3 separate regions of the Homo sapiens genome follow, and all the other regions are linked to region 3. Evidence: promoter capture Hi-C in human tissues and cell types (Jung and others, 2019). All regions are on one chromosome and are shown on one strand. The core of a region is centred on a gene start or on the middle of the fragment in contact, and the rest is flanking DNA. Distances in the headings are between cores, read along the strand shown. Region 1 overlaps FANK1 (fibronectin type III and ankyrin repeat domains 1). Region 2 overlaps DHX32 (DEAH-box helicase 32 (putative)). Region 3 holds the start of FANK1 (fibronectin type III and ankyrin repeat domains 1).

Region 1 (4,531 bases), core at 1,795-4,294, 46 kb before region 3:
GTCAGTGTGCCCCTGCTGCGGGGTGCCTCCCAGTTAGGCTGCTCGGGGGTCAGGGGTCAGTGGTCAGGGACCCACTTGAGGAGGCAGTCTGCCGGTTCTCAGATCTCCAGCTGCGTGCTGGGAGAACCACTGCTCTCTTCAAAGCTGTCAGACAGGGACACTTAAGCCTGCAGAGGTTACTGCTGTCTTTTTGTTTGTCTGTGCCCTGCCCCCAGAGGTGGAGCCTACAGAGGCAGGCAGGCCTCCTTGAGTTGTGGTGGGCTCCACCCAGTTCGAGCCTCCTGGCTGCTTTGTTTACCTAAGCAAGCCTGGGCAATAGCAGGCACCCCTCCCCCAGCCTCGCTGCCGCCTTGCAGTTTGATCTCAGACTGCTGTGCTAGCAGTCAGCGAGATTCCGTGGGCGTAGGACCCTCCCAGCCAGGTGTGGGATATAATCTCGTGGTTCGCCGTTTTTTAAGCCGGTCTGAAAAGCACAATATTCGGGTGGGAGTGACCCGATTTTCCAGGTGCGTCTGTCACCCCTTTCTTTGACTCGGAAAGGGAACTCCCTGACCCCTTGCGCTTCCCAAGTGAGGCAATGCCTCGCCCTGCTTCGGCTTGCGCACGGTGCGCGCACCCACTGGCCTGCGCCCACTGTCTGGCACTCCCTAGTGAGACAAACCCGGTACCTCAGATGGAAATGCAGAAATCACCCGTCTTCTGCGTCGCTCACACTGGGAGCTGTAGACCGGAGCTGTTCCTATTCGGCCATCTTGGCTCCTCCCCCCAGTTGTTTTGTTCTTATTAAATTTTTTTTAACAAGACACACATGACTTACACCAGGCAAACTGTCAGACTAGATTAAATGTATTGAGCTCTTAATCATAAGACACATACAACACAATGAGGCTTGTTTACTTGGATTACACATAAATTAATTATAATGCACTTTACCGTTGTCTTGCAGGACAAAGAAGGAACATACAGTATTATGCTGAAGTACTAAGAAGAACAGTGGAAGGTGTGGAGACAAGCTCGGTTGGGGAGACCCTAACCTAGCAGCACTAGAGGAATTAAAGACACACACACAGAAATACAGAGGTGTGAAGTGGGAAATCAGGGGTCTCGCAGCCTTCAGAACTGACAGCCCCCAACAGAGATTTACCCACGTATTTACTGACAGCAAACCAGTCATTAGCATTGTTTCTATAGATGTTAAATTAACTGAAAGTATCCCTTATGGGAAAGGAAGGGATGGGCCGAATTAAAGGAATAGGTTAGGCTAGTTAACTGCAGCAGGAGCATGTCCTTAAGGCACAGATCGCTCATGCTATTGTTTGTAGCTTAAGAATGCCTTTAAGCGGTTTTCCACCCTGGGCAGGCCAGGTGTTCCTTGCCCTCATTCCTGTAAACCCACAACCTTCCAGCTTGGGCGTTAGGGCCATTATGAACATGTTACAGTGCTGCAGAGATTGTTTATGGCCAGTTTTGGGGCTGGTTTATCGCCAGATTTTGGGGGGCCTGCTCCCAACAGGAAGGTATTGAATTGTTAAGTGAAAAAGGTTTATTCATCAGAGATCACAATGAAAAAGTTGTGTTCTTCAAGTAACAGAAATTTCTAGGAATCACCCAATTGATTTCTAGATTTGATCAATTTTTACATGAGTGCCTGGAAAACTATAAAGGTAGAAGGACAAATATGACTTTTATTTATCCAAAATAGCTCATGGAGAATTAATCAAAATAAGGGAAAATATGTACAAAATAAAGTGGGAACTCAAATAAGTAAATAAACCAAACATCAAATATTGCTACAAATTCTCCAGTAGCAAATTGCTTTATGTATGCCATTATCGTGTGCTACTCTAAAACAGAAAAATCATGTTCTACAGCAAACCAACTTTTAACTGTCAAAATTCATCTGAAATTAAAGTATACACAAGAATAATTCAAACGCAGTTTTGTCTTTTCAACAGAATGAAATAAGTTCTGAGCAACTTTAACCTTATGTTGCATTTGCAATCAGTCACGTAAAAACGTGACTTTTAGAAGACGTGAAGATTCCACAATGCTTTCACATTAGTAAGTACTTAAAATATATTCTGGACGCAGTTCGCTTTATCACTTAGTTATCCCTGGGAAAGCTGCCTTCCCAGTCCCTAAAGTTGCTGACTACTTCAGATTTTCCAAGTTACACGTTCTTCTTGAATTTATCTTTTACATTACATGTAGTATTTTAATCACCCATGCCAACTTAGTATTCAAGGGTCTAAGGATAGTGAGGTGGTTTGCCCATTATAAAGCATTGAGATCTTGTAGCACAAAGTACACAACATCTTAAAGACTCTAAAATATATTTTCTGACTCAGAAGGAACACCTGAGCATGAATAGAGAGTTCATTCAAAATTTAATAAACATTGCACAAACGGTCACATATTGTATAATTCTATGTATACAAAATGTCCAGAATAGGCAAATCAGACAAAGTAGATTAGTGGTTGCAAAGGGCTGGAAGAAGAGGAAAAGGGAGAATGGTTTCTAATGGTTATGAGATTTCTCCTGGGGGTGATGAAAATGTTGAAGATAGATAATGGTGATTATTGTACAACTTTGTGAATATAATAAAAAGCCACCGAATCATGCATATTTTTAAAGGGTGAGTTTTGTGGTATATTAATTATATGTCAATATTTTAAAAGTTACCAAAGGTCAAATATGCCATTTTAACTGCAATTTAGAAAAACAATTTTAGGCTAGTTTAGAAAAAAAAATGAAAAATGTCTGATTCCTGATTTAGACATATGAAGAGTTTAACAGAAAATACAGAAAATTACTGGACTATGAAACAATGGTGATTAAAGATGAACAATGAAATTAATAGAAATTATTCTGACATCAAGCAGCAAATTATAGTCTGGGCACAGTGGCTCACGCCTGTAATCCTAGCACTTTGGGAAGCCGCAGTGGGCAGATCACGAGGTCAGAAGTTCGAGACCAGCCTGGCCAATATGGTGAAACCCCATCTCTATTAAAAATACAAAAATTAGCCCGGTGTGGTGGCACACGCTTGTAATCCCAGCTACTCAGGAGGCTGAGGCAGGAGAATTGCTGGAACCCGGGAGGCAGATGTTGCAGTGAGCTGAGATCATGCCATTGCACTCTAGCCTGGGTGACAGAACAAGACTCCATTTCAAAAAAAAAAAAAAAAAAGCAAATTATAAAAAAATTTCAGATCTAATGAAAAGCAGTAATTAAAGACACAAACTTCAAATAGAAGTAGCAAATAAGCTTGTAGATTTGATAATTCAGTTAGTAAAATGAAAAATATAACAGGTGTATCAAGCAGTCGATTAATAAAAATATTTTTCTGAATTTAAGTTGGTAATGTTTTATATTTGTCAGCTTTTAAATATTTGTAATTTATTTTCTTGTTTTTAGTTAATGTTAGCTTTTCTACCTAATTTCGTTTTCTTAATTTTGTATTCTTTTCGTTAAAAAATGTCCTCCTCCTCAAATCGTTTAAGATTTGCTGAGAGTTCTCAGCTTGTCCAGATTGGGGAAAAAACTCTAAAATTGTTATAAAATGTTAAGCCTATGAAGTCAGGGAGAATTGACATCTTTATAAGAATAAATTGTTCTTTTAAATTCTGGAATATACGTGCAGGACGTGCAGGTTTGTTACGTAGGTAAACATGTCCCATGTGGTTTGCTGCACCTATCAATCCATCGAGAATAAATTTTTCTAAGAACAAATTGTGACTTTTTGTTCAAGTTTCCTTTGTGGCTCTCGGCAGACTCTCAATGTCTTCACAATGCTCTTGCACACTGCCCATGAAATTTACTCCTAGCATTTTATCTAGGAAGTTCCCTTCCTATATTAACTCTGATTACTCTTTATATACAGAGGCTATTTCTTATTTAGTTTTCCTTCATCATTATCATGACATTTCACATCAGAAGGGTGTGTGGACCCCATCCCTAATAAAATGTAAAAGGCACATGCTGGGAACCAGCCCCCATCTGAAGGCCAGAACATTACTAATACCAGTGGCCCCACTTGTGTGCTGGCCCCATCCTATTGCCCTGAATAACCCCCAAAGACACCACCACCAGTTTTGCATACATTATCCCTATGATTTATAAAAGTGAAATAACATTGTAATATGAATTCTTCCGTATTGTTTGGCTTTGCTGCTACAATGCTAATGCCACTATAACAATGGTATCAAATGGTATGATTTTGAGACTTGTTTTATTAAATGTCATGTTACTGGGATATATCAAGTTGTGAGTAGCCGTGGTTCACACTTTTCCATTGCTGTGTTATATTTCATCATGTGAATATACCATAATGTACTCAGGCTCCTCACAATGGGCATGTGGTCATTTCTAGGTTTTTGCTACTGCAGACCATACAGCTATGAACATTCTTGGTTTCTTGGTATCCACATGAAGGTTTCTTTGTGGCCTAGACATAGCAGTGAAATCTATTAGTCAATAGCTACACAAATATTCAAACTTATGTGATAATGTCAAATTGTTTCTCGAAGT
Region 2 (4,086 bases), core at 740-3,239, 33 kb after region 3:
TAAAAGGATTCTTTAATGTAGTCATTTTTAAAATGAGATATTATAAGAGCTTTGTCATGATATGGAATCAGATATTTCTTTTTCTTTCTTTTTTTTTTTTTTTTTTTTTTTTTTTTTTTTTTTTTTGAGACAGAGTCCCACTCTGTCTCCCAGGCTGGAGTGAAGTGGCACGATCTCAGCTCACTTCAACCTCCATCTTCCGGGTTCAAGCGATTATCGTGCCTCAGCCTCCTAAGTAGCTGGGACTACAGGCATGCACCATCACACTTGGCTAACTTTTTGTATTTTTAGTAGAGACGGGGTTTCGCCATGTTGCCTGGGCTGGTCTCAAACTCCTTAGCTGAGGCAGTTTGCTGGCCTCGGCCTTTGAAAGTGCTGGTATTACAGGCGTGAGCTACCGCACCCAGCCTAAGATACTTCTTAATATGGAAAGCCACAAAGACAAATAATGGTGGGGAAATCTAATAATACTGTTAGACACGCCTCACCTTTTAAACATCTATCACATGTTAGGCTTAGGATTGTTTTATGGTAAAAACCCAAGCATTCAATTCTGACACCCAAAGGAAATACTATATATTAAAGTATGTATTAGTTTCAATCTGTGTATGGCATTCCTTTCTTAACAGGGACAGTTGCTTCAGGTGTGGTGGGCTGAGGTACAAAGGCACCCATGGAGACAGGTGGAGAGTAGCTTCCTGCTTTGACAGGTTTTGCAGGTTGTTTCTTTCTGCCCTTGCTGGGCTGCCTTATTCTTCATTGCTTTCATATCTTCACTTCACAGTTACTCTTGCTTCTGAACATTGTACTTTCTTTTCCACTGTGACATGCCCCCAGAACCAGCGCAGAGTCAGAAGATACTCTGATGCATTGTGGTAAACAGTGTTTGAGTCACAGGAAAGAGGCCAGAGCTATTGAAAAGACCCCTATGATAAAATAAAGCAACACCTGTTTTCTTCCTGGTATTCCATGCTCTGGAGAGGAGGCAACATGGCTGTCAAAGGGTGTCTCCACCACTTACTCACTTGTAACCTTATAGAAGTCACCTAACCTCTTTGACCTTTAAGTTGCCTCATCTGAAAAATGTGGACGATTAATATACTTGCTCTGAGGGTTGTTGTGAGGACTATTAAATTTATGTAACTGATGCATGGTGTATGTATGTGGTAGCTATGTTTATAATTATATTTTTATAATTATGATTAGAACAAGATTGATTTTCCTGAAGAGGTATGCTAGCCATAATTTTGAATAAGCTCAGATTGAATAGCTATTTAAATCAGAGGATTTAACATTGATCATTGATTGGCCGGGCACGGTGGCTCACGCCTGTAATCCCAGCACTTTGGGAAGCCAAGGCGGGCAGATCCCAAGGTCAGGAGATCGGGACCATCCTGGCTAACATGGTGAAACCCCGTCTCTACTAAAAATACAAAAAAAATTAGCTGGGAGTGGTGGCAGGTGCCTATAGTCCCAGCTGCTCAGGAGGCTGAGGCAGGAGAATGGCGTGAACCCAGGAGGCAGAGCTTGCAGTGAGCCGAGATCATGCCACTGCACTCCAGACTGGGCAACAGAGTGAGACTCCATCTCAAAAAAAAAAAAAAATTGATCATTGATTATAGAAGGCAGTAGTCTATATTTGATACTGTCTTTTTCATTTTTTTGGTAGCCCCTTAGTATCTATCAAACACATCATAGGCAATTAGTAAACTGTCTTTAAGCCTACTACTATTTTTTGGATGCTATATGTAACAACTTTGTTCTTCTTTAAGCTTTTCTCTGGCCTTTTTTGAAACAGTGAATACCTGAATATTATATACCTAAAATAGTCTTTAGGAACTACATATCAAGATATCTCATAGAAGTGACTCATAGTGTCAAATGGTGGTCTTTTCTGTTTTTAGAACTGGAAAATTCTCAAATTTTCATTAAGGTTAAACTCAATTATATAATTTTATAAAATATAAATATTAATAAAACTTTATTTTATTATAGTCTTAGCTTTTAGAAATTTAGCCTTAATTTAAAGATATAAACTGCATTTCCTGAAACCTTGGTAGTGTATCTATTTTTTTTACGTACTTATTAGTTAACAGCACTTTTTAAAGTATCATACACACAATATCTCATTACCATAAAGTTCAGAAACATATCTTTGTGTTATATAGAAAAAAAGTAGTTTTTTTTTTTGCTTTGTTTTGAGTTGGAGCCTTGCTCACATTGCACAGACTGGGATGCAGTTGTGGGATCATAGCTCACTGTAATGTGGGACTCCTCCTGGGCTGGAGTGATCTCCCACCTCAGCCTCCCAAGTAGGTGGGACTGCAGAAAAATGTGGGTTTGTATAGTAAGTTTTAGGATTGAGCCTTCACAATTCCCTTATATAATCATCTGTAAGGCTAGGCCTTGCTGGATGAGTCTGCTGGAGTTTTTAATAAGTTAGCATCTTCTCTTTTTTTTAATTAAGCCTAGATGTATTTACATAACACATAAACCTCCTCAATCTTATGGGGCAGCATTACTTCCTATAAGATCAGTGCTTAGGTGAGTTTTGCTGAAAAGGAAACAGAGATAACATTAGAAATTAAATCTCTAATTAGCCTCAGCAAAAAAAAAAAAATTGAAAACTAGATTTCAATGCATCTGTTGGCATCTTGCACAAAGTATAATACTATAGTATTCAAGATGCTTTATTTTCTAAGTTTGAGGAAAGGAATCATCAATTTATCACTGCTCATTTGAAAGACACAGGATGAGAACCTGTATGAAAAGAAAGGCAGAGGGCATACACTTTGATCTCATAAAGATCCAGAGAGGAAGAACATGGACTTTTATCACCAAAACTACAAGGCCAAGGAAGCAATCGTTATAATTTGACAGTGACAACAGATAGAACAACTATCTGGGTTTAAATCTTGACTCTCTACCTGGCTTTGTGACCTTGGGCAGGGTACTGAATTTTTCTGACCTTCAGTTTTCTCATTTATAAATGAGTCATAGTAATGGGATAGCAATATCTACTTTGAAGATTTATTCTGAAGATTAAATGAGAAACATATACACCAGCTTAGTGACTGGCTCACACTAGGTGCTTAATAGATGTTTGTTTACTTCCTTTTTTTTTTTTTCCTTGAAAGAGGTTAATTGAGGACTGTGTCAAGATCCCCAAGACTACCCCCGGGTTCAGTGATTTGCTAGAAAGGTTCATGGGATTCAGCATATTATTTACATATAACTAAGGTTTATTGCATTGAAAAGATACAAAGCAACATCAGCAAAGGGAAATAGTGGATGGGACGAAGTTTACAGGAACCCAGGCGCAAGCTCACGAGCTCTCGCCCAGTGAAGTCACAAACCGTGCACTTCATTCACAGCTCGTGAAATGGTGCCCTACCAGGGAAACTCAGGCTCAGTGCCCAGGGTTTTTATTGAGGGCTGGCCGTAGAGGCACCCTCTGCCTAGTATGTTTCAAAATTCCAGACTCCCAGAAGGAAAGCACATGTGCAGCGTAAAACATATTGCCTGTACAAATGGTTCAGGCACAGCAAACTACTCTTTTCTGGGGGAGTCTCGCTCTGTCGCCCAGGCTGGAGTGCCCTGGCGCAATCTCGGCTCACTGCAAGCTCCGCCTCTCCAGTTCACGCCATTCTCCTGCCTCAGCCTCCCGGGTAGCTGGTACTACAGGCGCCCGCCACTACTCCCGGCTAATTTTTTGTATTTTTAGTAGAGACGGGGTTTCACCGCGTTAGCCAGGATGGTCTCGATATCCTGACCTTGTGATCCGCCTGCCTCGGCCTCCCAAAGTGCTGGGATTACAGGCGGGGCAAACTACTCTTTATCAGTTCTGGGAATGGTGAGGACCCTCCCCAAATCTAAGTTCCCAAATGCTAGCCAAGGGCTAACCTTGCAGGCAGGCCTGTCGAAGGATAGCAATCTCAGAATTGCCATGTACAAGAATAAATAAAAGTAAATACCTTAAATGGGTAAAAAACATATGGGATTGGGGCCGGGCGCGGTGGCTCACGCCTGTAATCCCAGCACTTTGGGAGGCCAAGGTGGCTGGATCACAAGGTCAGGAGATCGAGA
Region 3 (4,224 bases), core at 1,597-4,096:
ATCAGACTTTAGCTCTATTCAAAGTAAATAAAATTAAAAAGAAAATTAGGGGCCGGGCACGGTGGCTCACGCCTGTAATCCCAGCACTTTGGGAGGCCAGGGCGGGAGGATCACCTGAAGTTAGGAGTTCAAGACCAGCCGGACCAACATGGAGAAACCCCATCTCTACTAAAAATACAAAATTAGCCAGGCATGGTGGCGCATGCCTGTAATCCCAGCTACTTGGGAGGCTGAGGCAGGAGAATTACTTGAACCCGGGAGGCGGAGGTTGCAGTAAGCCAAGATCACATCATTGCACTCCAGCTTGGGCAACAACAGCGAAACTCTGTCTCTAAATAAATAAATAAATTAGCGGGGTATGGTGGCACACACCTGTAGTCACATCTAGCCAGGAGGCTCAGGTGAGAGGATTGCTTGAGTCCAAGAGTTCGAGGGTGTACTGAGCTATGATCGCACCACTATACTCCAGCCTGGGTGACAGAGCAAGACCCTGTCTCAAAAAAAAAAAAAAACAACAAAACTTGAGCTAAATGGTGATTGAATTATTTAAAATTAAATTGATGAAATAATTTAAGAATATGTGGAAAGAAAGAAATTTACAGTCATTCCTCAGGTATAAATTAAATATTTTCCACCTCAAAATCCAATGACATGAGATATAAATGTATAGTTCACATAAGTAATACATTTCTCACATGGTTACAGAACCTTTCTGATCAGGCTCCGGTTGAATTTTCCAGCCTTATCTCATTTCTCCTCCCTCCTTCCAACCCTGTTTTTTCCTCCTCCTCTCCTTAGCTACAGCTTTACTAATCTTCCTACCGTGAGCCTCAAACCCACGCTGCTCTCAGGTCTCAGGGCCTATGTACAAGTAATTCCCACTGCCTGGAATCCCTTGCCCTCATTCTTTGCTGGGTCATTCTGCAGACCCAGTACTACTTCCTCTTGGGAGCCTTTGTCCATCTCCTCTTCCCCCAATCTCCGAACCCCACCAAGACCTCAGGAGTTCTTGAGCAAGCCTCTGCTTAGTTTTCCTGGGATGACCAAAACTAACACTGTCCGATCCGTTGTTCAATCCTCAATCCCTAGAACAGAGCTGCAACATAACAGGCACTATAAATGAATGAATGGATAAAGACAGCACTGAAGAACTTGAAATTATAGTTTACACATGAAAACAGTAACATAAATCTGAAGAAATAAAGTTCTTTTTTTTGTTTTTTCGAGATGGAGTCTCGCTCTGTCACCAGGCTGGAGTGCAGCGGTGCAATCTGGCCTCACTGCAACCTCCGCCTCCCGGGTTCAAGCGATTCCCCTGCCTCGGCCTCAGCGTCCCAAATAGCTAGGACTCCAGGCACGCGCCACCACACCTGGCTTTTTTTTTTTTTTTTTTTTTTTTTTTTTTTTTTTTGTATTTTAGTAGAGATGGGTTTCACTATGCTGGCCAAGATGGTCTCAATCTCCTGACCTCGTGATCCGCCTGCCTCAGCCTCCCAAAGTGCTGGGATTACAGGCGTGAGCCACCGGGCCAGGCCAAGTTGCTGTTTTTAAAAGGTATATTTCAACTCACTTCTCTAAGGCGGGAATATACACAGCCTGCCATCAGTTTGACATAAAACAAAAATTTTAGCGTTCTTGTATGCTAAATTTCTTTTACTAGGTTAAAAAAATGTAGAATCCAAAGAGCTGTAAATGCAAATGACAAATACTGTACAAAATCTATCAAGCAACTATAAGTCACAACTTGCAAGCTTTCTCCTCAGCAAATGAGTTAAAAGGAAAAGTATTTGAAACTTTCTTGGTGGAAAACGAATGACCTTTAAAAATGCCAACATTTTCCCCAGAGAATAGATTTGGTCTGAGTTCTTCATTTCTGAAATTGTACAAGATAAGACGACTTGGTTTGAGAGTCAAACTGCATCCTTCTATAAAGGTTTTAGATAAATTTTAAGTCTCCATACAAAACACTCCCCTTATTTTGAGAACAAAAGGAACAATAAGACAGCTTAGGCGGGGCAGAGAAAGAAAGGCCTTGAAACAAAGTCCCTGGAAAGGTAAAAACAACAACAAAAATAGTAAGTTAGAGCTCGTGTTTAGATCTGATAACTCAAAACTGCACAACTTTTGCCATACATCGAAAGCAACATGGGAAAACAGAAAAAGAGATTACAAACATTTTTTGAGTGTCCTAACTTGTAGAACCCCTAAGAATGAATCAAATACACTTGGACAAAGCTCTTCTTTTCTCTCTCTCTCCTTCAAGTCGCAGACTAGGGGTGTGGGGCGGGGGGCGGGGAGTAAGACGGGGTCTCTAATAAATACAAGACCCAGCCTCGGACGTGTTTAATTGCTGACATTTTAGAAGAAAAATGGGCTACTTACAATTAATGAACCAAACTACCAAACTAAAATCATGAGTAGGAGGAGGAGTAAATGGAACCGTCCGGGCGAAGTTTCAGGAAGACGCACGCTGGGGTCGCTGCGCCCTTCCCCACCCATACCTCGGGGCTCTCCAGTCGCTCCCAGCCCCCAGCGCGGACTCTAGGGCGCCGGCGGCCCAACCATACAGACTTGGCAGGATGTAGCCCCCTTCTCCCCTCTCCAGGAGAGAAAAGCGCGAGGAGACGCAAACCGTATTTCCGTGTCCGAGCGTTGAAACCTGCGGAGTCGCGCGCGGGGCGCCCACACTCGTTCCCGGGGAGCCCCAGCCCGGTCGCCCGCCCCGGTCCCAGCTCCAGCCCGGGCCTCCCTTACTCTGGGGCTCCATGGTCGGCTGCTCCCCGGCCTCCGCGGGCGAACCCCCGGACTCCTAACGCCTCTCAGCCAGGGCCGGCGTCGCTACGGTTGCCCTGACAACCCGGAGGCGAAGTGGGCAGAACTAAAGGGACGGCGAGCGGGAGGGACCAAAAGCCGCAGGAAGTGAGGGAGCGCGTGAGGACCCGCGCGTCGCCGGGGACACTGAGCGAGGGTAGCGGCCAGGTCACCGGCTGAGGACACTGCTCCTGAAGCCCGGTCAGGCGGTCGCGCCCTCCCTGGCGGCCCCCGCGGCCCCGCAGGACCTGTGCCCCGACGTCGCCGACCCGCGGTCCCCGCTGTCGCCGACCCGCGGCGTCCGTCGGGCGAGTGGGCCTGCCCGCGGGTAAGGCGCCGGCCCTGGGCCGCCCTCCCGGGAATCGGGAGCCGCCGCTGCAGGTAACAGCGGGGCCCCGGCGGCGGAAGGGGTCGGGGGTCGGCGCAGGGGCGGGCGCGCCCCGAGCCGGGTGGGCGGCCCCGGCGCACCTGTTGTAGCCGCCTGGGGGTCCCCTGCCCGCAGTTGGCCGTGGACGTTCCCCGCCCCGACTCCGAAACGCCGAGGGCGGCCTCCGCGCCTCCTGCTCCGGGAGCCGCGCCTCAGCGGGAGGACGGAGCCCTGCGGGCAGCCCTCGCACCAGGGGCTCCCTCCGAGCCCGGGCATGGGCCGGGCCTGGGGCGGTCCCTCGAGCCCCCCTGACGGGAAGCGTGGAGCAATGCGAGCCGCCGCCGTCGTCGCTGTCGTCCCCAGTGAGCCTGGCGCGTCTCCTGAATCGCGAGAGCCAGGAGCACGGTTTTGCCCGGCTTTGCCCCGTCATCCCCGTGTCCCATTTCAGGCAGGGGGCCCGGGTTGGATCTTTCTCGCTGGCTTCGTTTTTTGTGTGTTGATTTGTTTCAGTCCTTCGCGTTTCCGGTTGAGTTACGGAATCTGCCCACACGTTTTGTGGCCAAACTTTGTAGGGCTGTGAAACAATGTAACATTATCCCACACAATAGTCTTTCATACTGGTTTTAAAACACAGTGATTCAGGGTTTGCTTTAAGGAAGCTTTGAGGATCACAAGAGATTATTATCTGGTAGGTTGTAAAAATTCAAACAACCAGGAGAGTATCATAGGTTCCGGAACACCAGAAGGAGGAAAGAAAAATGGAGACGAGAGAAAAAGGATAAGCAAGAAAGTGCAGGGGCATTAAGGGTGTGGGGGGCTGCAGGATTGATTTGGTATTCAGGTCTGGAGATTATGGCCCCTCTATTAATTCCAACCGCTGCTCCAGACAGTACTTGAGGGAAATGGAAGGAAGAGCCGTTTTGGGGGTCATGGAAGTGATTACTAATCTTGCCAGTAGAAAGATTTCCACTCCATGGATGACAAGGACACTAAGGAGAATTACTTTCCTCTTAGGGAATCATTGAGAGGTTAATTGAACTTGAGAA

Evidence for each region. Contacts are between HindIII fragments. The study calls those that stand out against the background at their distance.
Region 1: a contact is called between a fragment that was not itself captured here and the fragment with the promoter of FANK1 in region 3, in 1 of the 25 tissues and cell types used here (heart right atrium).
Region 2: a contact is called between a fragment that was not itself captured here and the fragment with the promoter of FANK1 in region 3, in 1 of the 25 tissues and cell types used here (aorta).

Annotation. Positions count from the first base shown.
Region 1 is chr10:125,941,473-125,946,003 of GRCh38, reverse strand. All of the region lies in intron 1 of FANK1 (fibronectin type III and ankyrin repeat domains 1), which reads right to left. Among named protein-coding and RNA genes, the nearest start is that of FANK1-AS1, 30 kb to the left of the region's middle. The HindIII fragment of the contact is 3,831 bases long and covers 1,129-4,531 here.
Region 2 is chr10:125,860,970-125,865,055 of GRCh38, reverse strand. The region is part of intron 2 of DHX32 (DEAH-box helicase 32 (putative)); the gene reads left to right. Among named protein-coding and RNA genes, the nearest start is that of DHX32, 18 kb to the left of the region's middle. The HindIII fragment of the contact is 5,901 bases long and covers 1-4,086 here.
Region 3 is chr10:125,895,186-125,899,409 of GRCh38, reverse strand. FANK1 (fibronectin type III and ankyrin repeat domains 1) reads right to left here and starts at 2,846. Exons shown (of 11, transcript NM_145235.5): 1 at 2,755-2,846. The coding sequence starts at 2,767. It also overlaps a transcript of DHX32 not described here. RefSeq lists silencers at 2,276-2,570, 2,662-2,801, 2,962-3,041, 3,262-3,341. The HindIII fragment of the contact is 9,835 bases long and covers 1-4,224 here.